Linked DNA regions of Homo sapiens: all the other regions are linked to region 1. The links are contacts of gene promoters, found by promoter capture Hi-C in blood cells and fetal thymus (Javierre and others, 2016). All regions are on one chromosome and are shown on one strand. Each heading gives the region's core, a stretch centred on a gene start or on the middle of the fragment in contact. The rest is flanking DNA. Distances are from core to core; before and after follow the strand shown. Region 1 overlaps CPNE3 (copine 3). Region 2 holds the start of E2F5 (E2F transcription factor 5). Region 3 holds the start of CA2 (carbonic anhydrase 2).

What was found. Contacts are between HindIII fragments. The CHiCAGO score rates a contact against its expected background, and 5 or more counts as called.
Region 2: a contact is called between the fragment with the promoter of E2F5 here and a fragment that was not itself captured in region 1, in 1 of 17 cell types (naive B cells). The highest score is 6.7, in naive B cells.
Region 3: the fragment with the promoter of CA2 here is called in contact with a fragment that was not itself captured in region 1 in 2 of 17 cell types (naive B cells and total B cells); the score reaches 6.1 in naive B cells.

What each region holds. Positions count from the first base shown.
Region 1 is chr8:86,522,972-86,526,041 of GRCh38, reverse strand. The region is part of intron 2 of CPNE3 (copine 3); the gene reads right to left. Among named protein-coding and RNA genes, the nearest start is that of CPNE3, 10 kb to the right of the region's middle. RefSeq lists enhancers at 2,585-2,634, 2,655-2,754. The HindIII fragment of the contact is 2,787 bases long and covers 250-3,036 here.
Region 2 is chr8:85,175,515-85,178,584 of GRCh38, reverse strand. E2F5 (E2F transcription factor 5) reads right to left here and starts at 1,431. Exons shown (of 8, transcript NM_001951.4): 1 at 931-1,431. The coding sequence starts at 1,164. It overlaps E2F5-DT (E2F5 divergent transcript), which reads left to right and starts at 1,544. Exons shown (of 3, transcript NR_134311.1): 1 at 1,544-1,754. RefSeq lists silencers at 571-960, 971-1,500 and an enhancer at 1,601-1,770. The HindIII fragment of the contact is 15,711 bases long and covers 1-3,070 here.
Region 3 is chr8:85,462,198-85,465,267 of GRCh38, reverse strand. CA2 (carbonic anhydrase 2) reads right to left here and starts at 1,261. Exons shown (of 7, transcript NM_000067.3): 1 at 1,153-1,261. The coding sequence starts at 1,186. It overlaps CA3-AS1 (CA3 antisense RNA 1), which reads left to right and starts at 353. Exons shown (of 3, transcript NR_121630.1): 1 at 353-686; 2 at 2,467-2,532. RefSeq lists enhancers at 653-1,152, 3,053-3,070 and silencers at 796-1,265, 1,376-1,695, 1,766-2,025. The HindIII fragment of the contact is 7,146 bases long and covers 1-3,011 here.

The DNA of each region.
Region 1 (3,070 bases), core at 394-2,893:
ACTTCAACTTCCTGGGCCTAGATTTCCTCATCAGTAAAAATGGAGATAATGCAAGTAAATTTGTAAATCTGGCACGTGCCAGGCATACTGTTTTTTTGCATCTAATACAGAATCTGTAAAATAAATGTGAGTTGTATGATTTTTTTTTGCATAAGGTAGTTTAGAGTCTTGTAAGTTGTATGTCAGCAATATCAAGCATAATGCAGTGCCCTGTGGATGAACATAGAATGAGCAACAATAGCTAAAGCTTCCCCCAAAAAAACATGTAGAGGATTCTCTACCAGCCAGCAGAAAAGTCTTCAAATTTCCAAGGATGGGAAGAATTCAACAGAGAATGAAGACATCTACATGTGAAGTCAGTCTCACAGCAAAGAGACACCACATATCAGAAGAGCATTATTTTTTTCCCTAAAAATGCTTATACAAAAGCTACAAAAACAACATGCCAGGCACAGCTGATTATTTAACCAATTGCTGACAGTTATACTACTGCATTGCTGCCAGGAAACAAATTTCTTCTATTAGCAGCATTCCTCTCTGAAAAATGACTCTGTGCTGGTCTCAATGTTATCCTGAAACCCATTATGGCTGAATGGCAAATGGAAGAAATTACATAAACACTAGGGTCTGGAATCTTGTTAATGGTAATATTCATGAAGATACTGTTTTCATTTCCTTTTAATGTAATTATCCAGTACATGATATACAATTTTTTAAGAGAGCAATAGTATACTTTATCCACAAATCATAATGGGAGCTGGGCATATTGGCTCATACTTGTAATCCCAGCACTTTGGGAGGCTGAGGCAGTAGGATTGCTTGAGCCCAGGAGTTCAAGACCAGCCTGAGCAACAGAGACCTCATCTCTACAAAAACAAAAAATTTTAGGCTGGGCGCAGTGGCTCACACCTGTAATCCCAGCATTTCGGGAGGCCGAGGCAGGTGGATTATCCCAGGTCAGGAGTTTGAGACCAGCCTGGCCAACCTGGTGAAACCCCGTCTCTACTAAAAACACAAAAATTAGCCAGGCATGGTGGTACATGCCTGTAATCCCAGCTACTCAGGAGGCTGAGGCAGGAGAATCACTTGAACCTCAGAGGCGGAGGTTTCGGTCAGTGAGATCACGCCATTGCATTCCAACCTGGGCGACAGAGCAAGACTCCGTCTAAAAAAGAAAGAAAGAAAGAAAGAAAAATGAAAAAATTAGCCAGCCAAGGTGGCATGCACCTGTAGTCCCAGCTACTCAGTAGGCTAAGGCAGGAGGCTCACTCAAGTTCAGGAGTTCGAGGCCACAGTAAGCTATGCACTGCAGCCTGGGTGACAGAGCAAGACCCTGTCGCAAAAAAAAAAAAAAAAAAAATTATGATGAGGAAAAATAAAACAAACGTTTTATACTCTTTTAGTATGAAAGATTTGGCTGGGATAAGTCACCTGGCAAAGAATGCATGAGCAACTAAAGAAGAATTCTATGTAGTATTTTACTCCTTAAAGAGCAGGATAGAAAACACAAATAATCCCTAGGATTAGACAACAGCTTCCCTACTGTACAGATTATTACTTGTTGGACAAAATTTGATCCAAACACGTCTTCTGAAATGCAAATAATCCCTAGAAACACCAAATATATCAATAATTCTCCCAGTCACCCTAACGTTCTGAATCAATATTATAACAGAGATAAACATAAGGAGCTGAGAATTAAGACCTAATATTTAAAGTGGTACCTGATATGTGAAATTTAAGGCATCTGGTCATTCCCATGCCCTGGCTGAAAATCCTGAAGTCTTATCTACTTCCTCTTTTCCCATTCCTCCTTAAACCTACTCTTAGATTTATCCAGTAAAGATGTCATAGAGATTCTGCCTACTAGAACCCCAAATCTCTCCCAAACATGGAGATACAGCCGCTTTCCCATACCCAGAGTCACAACCCTAACTTCAGGTCTTCTGTATCTCTCACCTGCCTTATATAATAGTCTCCTAATGGGTATTCCCACTGCCATTTTCTCTCCATTCACATTATGGTTTTATCACTTCTGATTAAAAAGTGATAGTCCAATGAACTAAGCCTGGAATTCATGGCTCTGCCAACATCTACCCCTAATCTACCTGAACAGCTACCTCTGCCCACCCAAGTTCTTCAAGATCCACTTCAGGCCGGGCACGGTGGCTCACACCTGTAATCCCAGCACTTTGGGTGGGCGAGGTAGGGGGATCACTTGAGGTCAGGAGTTCAAGAACTCAGCCTGGCCAACATGGTGAAACCCTGTCTCTACTAAATATACAGAAATTAGCCAGGTGTGGTGGCAGGTGCCTGTAATCCCAGCTACTCGGGAGGCTGAGGCAGGAGAATCACTTGAACCAAGGAGGTGAAGGTTGCAGTGAGCCGAGATGGTACCACTGCACTCCAGCCTGGGCGACAGAGTGAGACTCTATCTCAAAACAAAACAAAACAAACACTTCAAATGATACTTCATTCATACAGCTGTTGCTGATACCCTGCTGATACCCCTCATGCTGTTATGGCACTGATTCTATTTTCTTTCCACTATTGTTACTTGTATTTGTGGCTCATCACTCCGTCTATATACTGTGAACTGTGGGCAGCGAACATATTTTACCACTTCCTCTTCTTCCTGAAGCATGACATCTGGCACAGGTTATTTGTAGCAGAAAGAGCAATAATGCTGGAGTCAGCGTGTGTCATTCAAATTTCTTTCCCATCACTAATTTGGATGTGTCACCTCTGCCAAATTGTCTATCTGAACTTCAATTTCCTAATTTATAAAATGGGGATATTAAAAAACCCTGACACTAGTCCTTCAATGTAAATAAGGCTAAGAGAGAAAAATAAACTTAATAAAAACCCTGACAACTGTAGGTCTGTAGCATGCTCAGCATATAATAGACACTCTATGAATTGTAGCAATTATTTTATTACTGAGTCAGGGATTTTAATTGATTGTCTCAGCATAGATGGCTTGTTATTAAGTAGTAAGACATAAAGCAGCTTTCTCATCCTTACTTATGAAAAGCTTCTTGAAACAATAATGATTTTTGGGATTTACATA
Region 2 (3,070 bases), core at 182-2,681, 1.3 Mb after region 1:
TTTTTTGTTTGTTTGTTTCTAAAACTTTAGTTCTTAAACTTCGCGCGGAGTGACCACATTCTCATTATCCTGAGCGCTGTTGAATTCTTCCAAATCCTTCCTAGATCGGTTAAGTCATTCTGTATGACAGAACAGCTTTTGATGCCTGCTCCTGTTTGAAAAATCTGAACGCTGTAAAGGACGACGCAGGGAGAGAGTTTACTGAGCACTTCCACCTCTTTGGGTGAAAGTTGTAAAATATCCCCTTTTCGTGTGACAGCAGATCTCACTTTTGGAAACCCATGACACATGCCAAATGAAGTCACAAATCAAATACCCCTCCTAACTATCAGGGTGATGAAAGAAGTGCACAAGGAAGATTTAATACTATTTTATCGGGGAGGGGCGTGGAAAGAAGTACTCTTTTTTTTTTTTCTTTCATCTGGTAGAGATGGCAGACTGGGTTTTGTTTTTCCTCCTTTTTATTTAAACTACAGGAACATGGTTCCAACTGGAATCGCCTATTAAAACCATCCATTCTTAACAGCAAAATCGATATCCACGGTGTCTCCGGGCAAAGCGCCCGTTACCCCGTGAGCCTCTGCCACAGGTGGACGCAGAGCAACAGACACTCGGTTACCCTCAGGTCCCTGCGCCCGGAGACAGAAGCCACGCGGGCGCGCTCGAGGTCCTGGGCTCTTTGTCGAGAGCCCAGCGTGGCGCCGGGCCCCATTGGTTACGCGTCCGCTCGGTGCCATCCTGGTCCCTCGTCCCTCCCCCATCCCGGCGTCCACGACCCGGGCGCAGGCCACATGGTCCTCGGATTGCCCGGTCCCGGGTCCCCGCAAGGCGCGTCTACACCACGCCGCTAGACCCACGCGGCGAGGGGCTGGGCTTCCCCGGGGGCCACGGGTTCCGAAGTCCGCCCCCGTCCCCGCCTCCGGAGCTCACCGCTTTGAGATCCAGAACGCCGTCCTTGGCCTCCTGCAGCAGCGACACGAACTTGGTAGTGAGCAGCCCCAGGCTCTTCTCGTGCCTGCTGCTGCCGCCCCCGGCGCCCCCGAGCTGCGGCGGCGGGGGCGGCTGCGGGGCTTGCGCCTGCGGAGGCTGCGGCGGCGGCCGCTGGCCCTGCCCCTGCCCTGCCGGCGCCTGCTGGCCCGAGCTCGCGGGCTCTGCCGCCGCCATCGCGTCCCGGCCCCGCGGTGGTCGGGCCCCCGCGCACTTTCGCTCGCCGGCCCCGCCCGCGGCCACCTGCCGGGTCGGCTCCGCTGCGGCCGCTTCCCCGCCCGCCGAGAGCGGTAGTGCGGGTCGCTGGCTGCTGCAAACAACAGGTGTGCGGCGCCCACGGGAGTCTGGGCCGCTTGTCACGCCGGGCCTCCGCCCCCTCCCCAAGCCCGGGGAAGCGTGAATGAGGCCCACGACCGAGGGGGGAGGGGTGGAAACGAGGAGAAGGGGCTGCGAGGGGTGGGGACCTGAGTTTAAATGGCAGGAAGTGACGCCGCCGCCCGCCGTTGCCTAGAAACACATTTTTCTGTAGGAAGGAGGAGCGCACGAGGAGGAGGAGGGGTGTTGGCGCGTGTGTTTCACACTCGCCTCCCTGGCGTTCGCGAGCTGACCCGAGGAGTGGTAATCTCACGCGGCAAAGCAGGGAGGAAGAAAAAAAGGAGACAAAAGAAAAAAAGACTTTTATCTGGGCAGAAAGTCACAATGCCTAGCGGCCAAACGTTTGTGAGCGGTGAAGTTGGTTGACTGCTCAAGTTTGCAGAGCTTCAGCAGTAGGTTACTTTCTCTGGACGGTTTCTGCTATCTTTGCTCTTTTCGAGCTCTAGCATCGTTTGCAAATATTTCAATGACTTGGACCAAGTGCAGAGTTTTACTTCATAGCTCACCCTTTTAGATTCGGAGTACAGAAAAAGGCATCGTGGAGTTTTAGGGTTGGTTTTCATCAATCCTTTCCAAGGCCTTTACTTTCTACATGGAGAAACGTGTAGAGGGAGAGGTTGTGAATTGCCAAAGACATGCCGTTAGATTCCAGATCTCCTGTGTTTGACCAAAGTTCTTGACCAAAGTTCTTAATATCTTATTTGAACCAAATTATATTGTATTTGGAATATTGGGTAGCCACAGGCCCTTGGACTTCAGTGATATTCCAAACTATTGATGGCAAATGACATTATGGAGATCTGAGTAAAAGAAAGTCGTTGGGATTTTTTCCTCATTATATTACAAACTCTTGAGAATCCAGACTAAATTTTAAATGACTTGTTGTCACACTCAACACTTTGAATATAGTAGACAATAAAGATTAGGCGAATGAGACCAGGCGCGGTGGCTTACGCCTGTAATCCCAGCACTTTGGGAGGCCGAGGCAGGCAGATCATTTGAGATCAGGAGTTCGAGACCAACCTGGCCAACATGGTAAAACCCCGTCTCTACTAAAAATACAAAAATTAGCGGGGGGTGGTGGTGCCCGCCTATAGTCCCAGCTACTCCAGAGCCTGAGGCAGGAGAATCTCTTAAACCCAGGAGGCAGACGTTGCAGTGTTGCAGTGAGCCGAGATGCCACCACTGCACTTCAGCCTGGGCAACAAAGCAAGACTCTGTCTCAAATAAAAAAAAAAAAGATTAGGTGAATGAAAATTCTATATGGCAATAATTAATCAAGAAGATTTCATGCAAGAAAGATTTTGCTTAATTTTAAGTAACAATAAACTAACAAAAAAGGTCACTGAAGCGACATCAAATACAACAGCATTAACTAGTAAAGCTGAACACACCATTTATAACACATCATAGGCACAGAACTTTATAACCTTTATTAATAACCTATTCATAATAACCTTTATTTTAATCAAATCTATAAACAAAACTTAAAATTGAAAATCTGAAGTAAAACATGAAAAATTCAGTTGATACAACCATTTTCCAACAACCTATCCAAGAAAGGCTATCTTTATTTGATTTGACATGGGACACATCATTGACAAGTTTTGCAAATTTATTTTATTGATTATTGTCAAGTAGTATTTCTTAGAACATACTGAATTAGGAAGATTCTAATTTGTTTTTAACTTTATAACAGAACATTGTG
Region 3 (3,070 bases), core at 12-2,511, 1.1 Mb after region 1:
GGGAAAGAAGACATGTGAATCCCCCATTGTGGGGAAAGGTACACCCAGACCCCTAGAGAAGAGCAATCATTCCGGAGCCAATCTGCTCAGTTCCAATTTTAGAAGCATCACTTAACAATGGGCTAAATTTTGGGAAAACACGTAATCTGTGCCTCAGTTTCCACATTTGTAATATGGGATAATTAGAAATCTACCTCATAGATGTCGCTGTAAGAATTAGAATCGATATATGTAAAGCTCTTAGATCACTGAGTGCTATATAAATATTAGCTATTTTAAGGTCGTTTTACTGAAATTCAGCAACTGAAATCGGGCAGACACTAATGTCAGGGCTTGTGGTTGCGATTTTGGGATATGCAAGCTCACTTAAGACATTCAAGGAGGTCTGGATCCTTTCCTCACTGCCCAGGCCCGGGCCCACCCCACCTTTAACCGTCAGGGTTCCCCACTACCTGGGAAGCCCCACACCCTCCAAAGATGCGCTAGGTGCGCCAGACGCATGCTCCTCTGCTCCGCTGGCTCCGAAGAACCAGATCTGAGGCCAAGATAAAACCCGATTCCTGATGTCCGACCCCCTAACATTAGAAGTCGAGAGATGAAGGGAAAACTCGGAAATCAGAGCCATGGATTCAAACCAGCACTGGAAAATGCCCCGGGACAGTTCGTGCTGAGCGCCTTAGCCACAGGTGGTGCTGAAGCTGGAGGGGTGGGGTGGGGGTGGAAGGTGGGGGAGGGGGGAGGGGAGTCTCTTAATTTCTCTGCGATCAACAACTAGAATTTTCCGTTACAACCCTTTCCCGCCTCCTCCTAGGTCCGGTTAAAATGATCCCCAGGTCGGGACCCGGGAGGGACTGTCCTCGGGTCCCGCGGCCAGGGCTGCGCCTCCCCTCCCTCGGGCCCTACGCGCCTCCGGCGGACGCGGGGATTCCTCCACAGTGGCCTCGCAGCTGGGGCAAGGGGGACATCCCCGGCGCCGCGGAGCCGCGAGCGGAGCGAGCGCCCGGGGCGCACCTGAGCCTCCAGCACTCCCCGCGGCCGCGGTAAACAGCATGTGCGGGCGCTGCGGGCCCCGGGCCGGCATCCGGGCTCGGGGATCGGGGATCGGGGATCGGGGATCGGGGCGCCCCCGCGCTGGCCGTCGCCGGCACTCACCGTTGTGTTTGCCGTACCCCCAGTGATGGGACATGGTCGCGCTGGCGGTCGGGGCAGGGCAGGAATCGGCACCGATCTGGCGGCGGCGGCTTGGGCGCCTGCACTGTGTGTCCGCGGGTCGCGCCGGCACCAGCTTTTATAGGCTCCCGCCAACTTCGTGCTCGGGGGCGGCCCGGGGGAGGGGGCTCGGGTGGACCTAGGCGACAAGGGGAGGTGGTGACGGGCGGAGGTGAACTCCCCGCGCTCGGGGCGGGGCGGGCCGGGCGGGCGAGTCTCCGGGGGCGGGGAAAACGCCCTCTCGGCTGGCGCCCGGCGGGGCTCCGGGGCTCCGGGGCTCCGGGGCTCCTCTCCCGCCGCCCGGCTCCCCTCGGCCCACGGCAGGGCCCCGGTGTCCTGGGCTGGCAGCGAAGCTCGGAGCTCTGGGCGTGCGGCGGCTGCGGTGGCTCCTGGGCTCCTCCGTCCAACCCGGGCCGCGGAGCCTCTACGCGCACCCCATCCCCCTCCCGGCTGCGGAGTCTGGCGGCGGCGGGGACTGCTCGGGACCCGGACCCCCGGCGCCTTTCGTCCCCTGTCCCCATTGTGACCTGTCTCTTGGCCCCGGAGCCCTCCCGCCCCACCCGCGCCGGGGTCTCCAGCGCGAAGGGCTCAGTCTCTGGTGTCCCCGGCCTGGGGCTGGCAAGCTGGGTTAGGAGCTATGACCTTGGGGCAAATAGGGATACGATCCTAGAGGCGCAGGGGAGCGCGCAGCATGAGTGCTGAGAGGCACGCGCCCTCTGCTGCACGGCCGTGGAATAAAACGAGACAACGGCCCCACAGTCCCCTGCCCGCAGCCCACGCTCGGGCGAGCCTGGAGGATTGCATTTCCTCGTAGGCTGGCAGAGCCTTACATGAAGCGCTCATCTTCTCCTACTTTCCTCCTCTTTAAAAAATTAACGTGGGTGAGGAGACGTCCTAGTTGAGTACATATTGATTTGAAATAACCAAAACTTTTAACAAATCACTTTTCTCAGAAGAATCCAGTAAGAGAAAGATAATTTCTTCCAAAGACATGAGACGTTCCCTGGCTGGCCAAGAAAAATTGGCATCTGGCATACCTAGGAATCATTCAAAATAGTTTAATAGGAAGGACATTTTGAGGCCAGCCAGCATTATGACATTTGTGGGTCCTACGGCATTTCACCTTGGTGGGTCCCTTTTTCATAAACACGCATTTATACCAACACTGACATAAAGATAAATATCTTAATATTATATATTTAAACATTTTCTTTAACCAACACCTAATTTTTTTCTTTTTTGTTCTTATTTTAAAAGGAAACATTTTCCTGGGCATCTAAAAGTATTGTGGACCTGAGACACTGTGCTTACAGGGCCTACTGGGTAAGTGAGGCTGTTTTGAGATATAGAGAGAATTCATTTCCTACAAGGGATTTTGCCACAGAAAAATCCGGGGGTTTGTGGGAAGGAGTTCGGTTCTGTGGTCTCTGCAATCTCTGAGGGCAATAGTATTAGAGTTACAGTTGGGGAAGCAGGACACAGTTTAATGTGATTGTGTCGGCCTTGACATCACATTACTTACCTTTGAAAATATACAGATAAATACAAGGATAAGTTATTAGTGGACATTTTTGCAATATGTATCTCAAAATCACTCTTTACTATTTATTTCAGTCAATTTCATCCAAACAAATATGATTCATGTTTAGACTTACTTGTTCTAAGATTCTAGAAAATTGTGTACTTCTGCTTATGTGGGTTTTGGGTTGATGTCACAGGGAATTCTTAGGCAAGAAAGCAGCAATAAAGTTTTTAAATTTTTAGGACCATTACAAAATGGAGTTTGTAGCAAAGAAGAAGCTTTTATTTGTGCCTCTGTAGGTGCATTGTATCTGTTGGGGCCCATTGATGTAATTTTGTT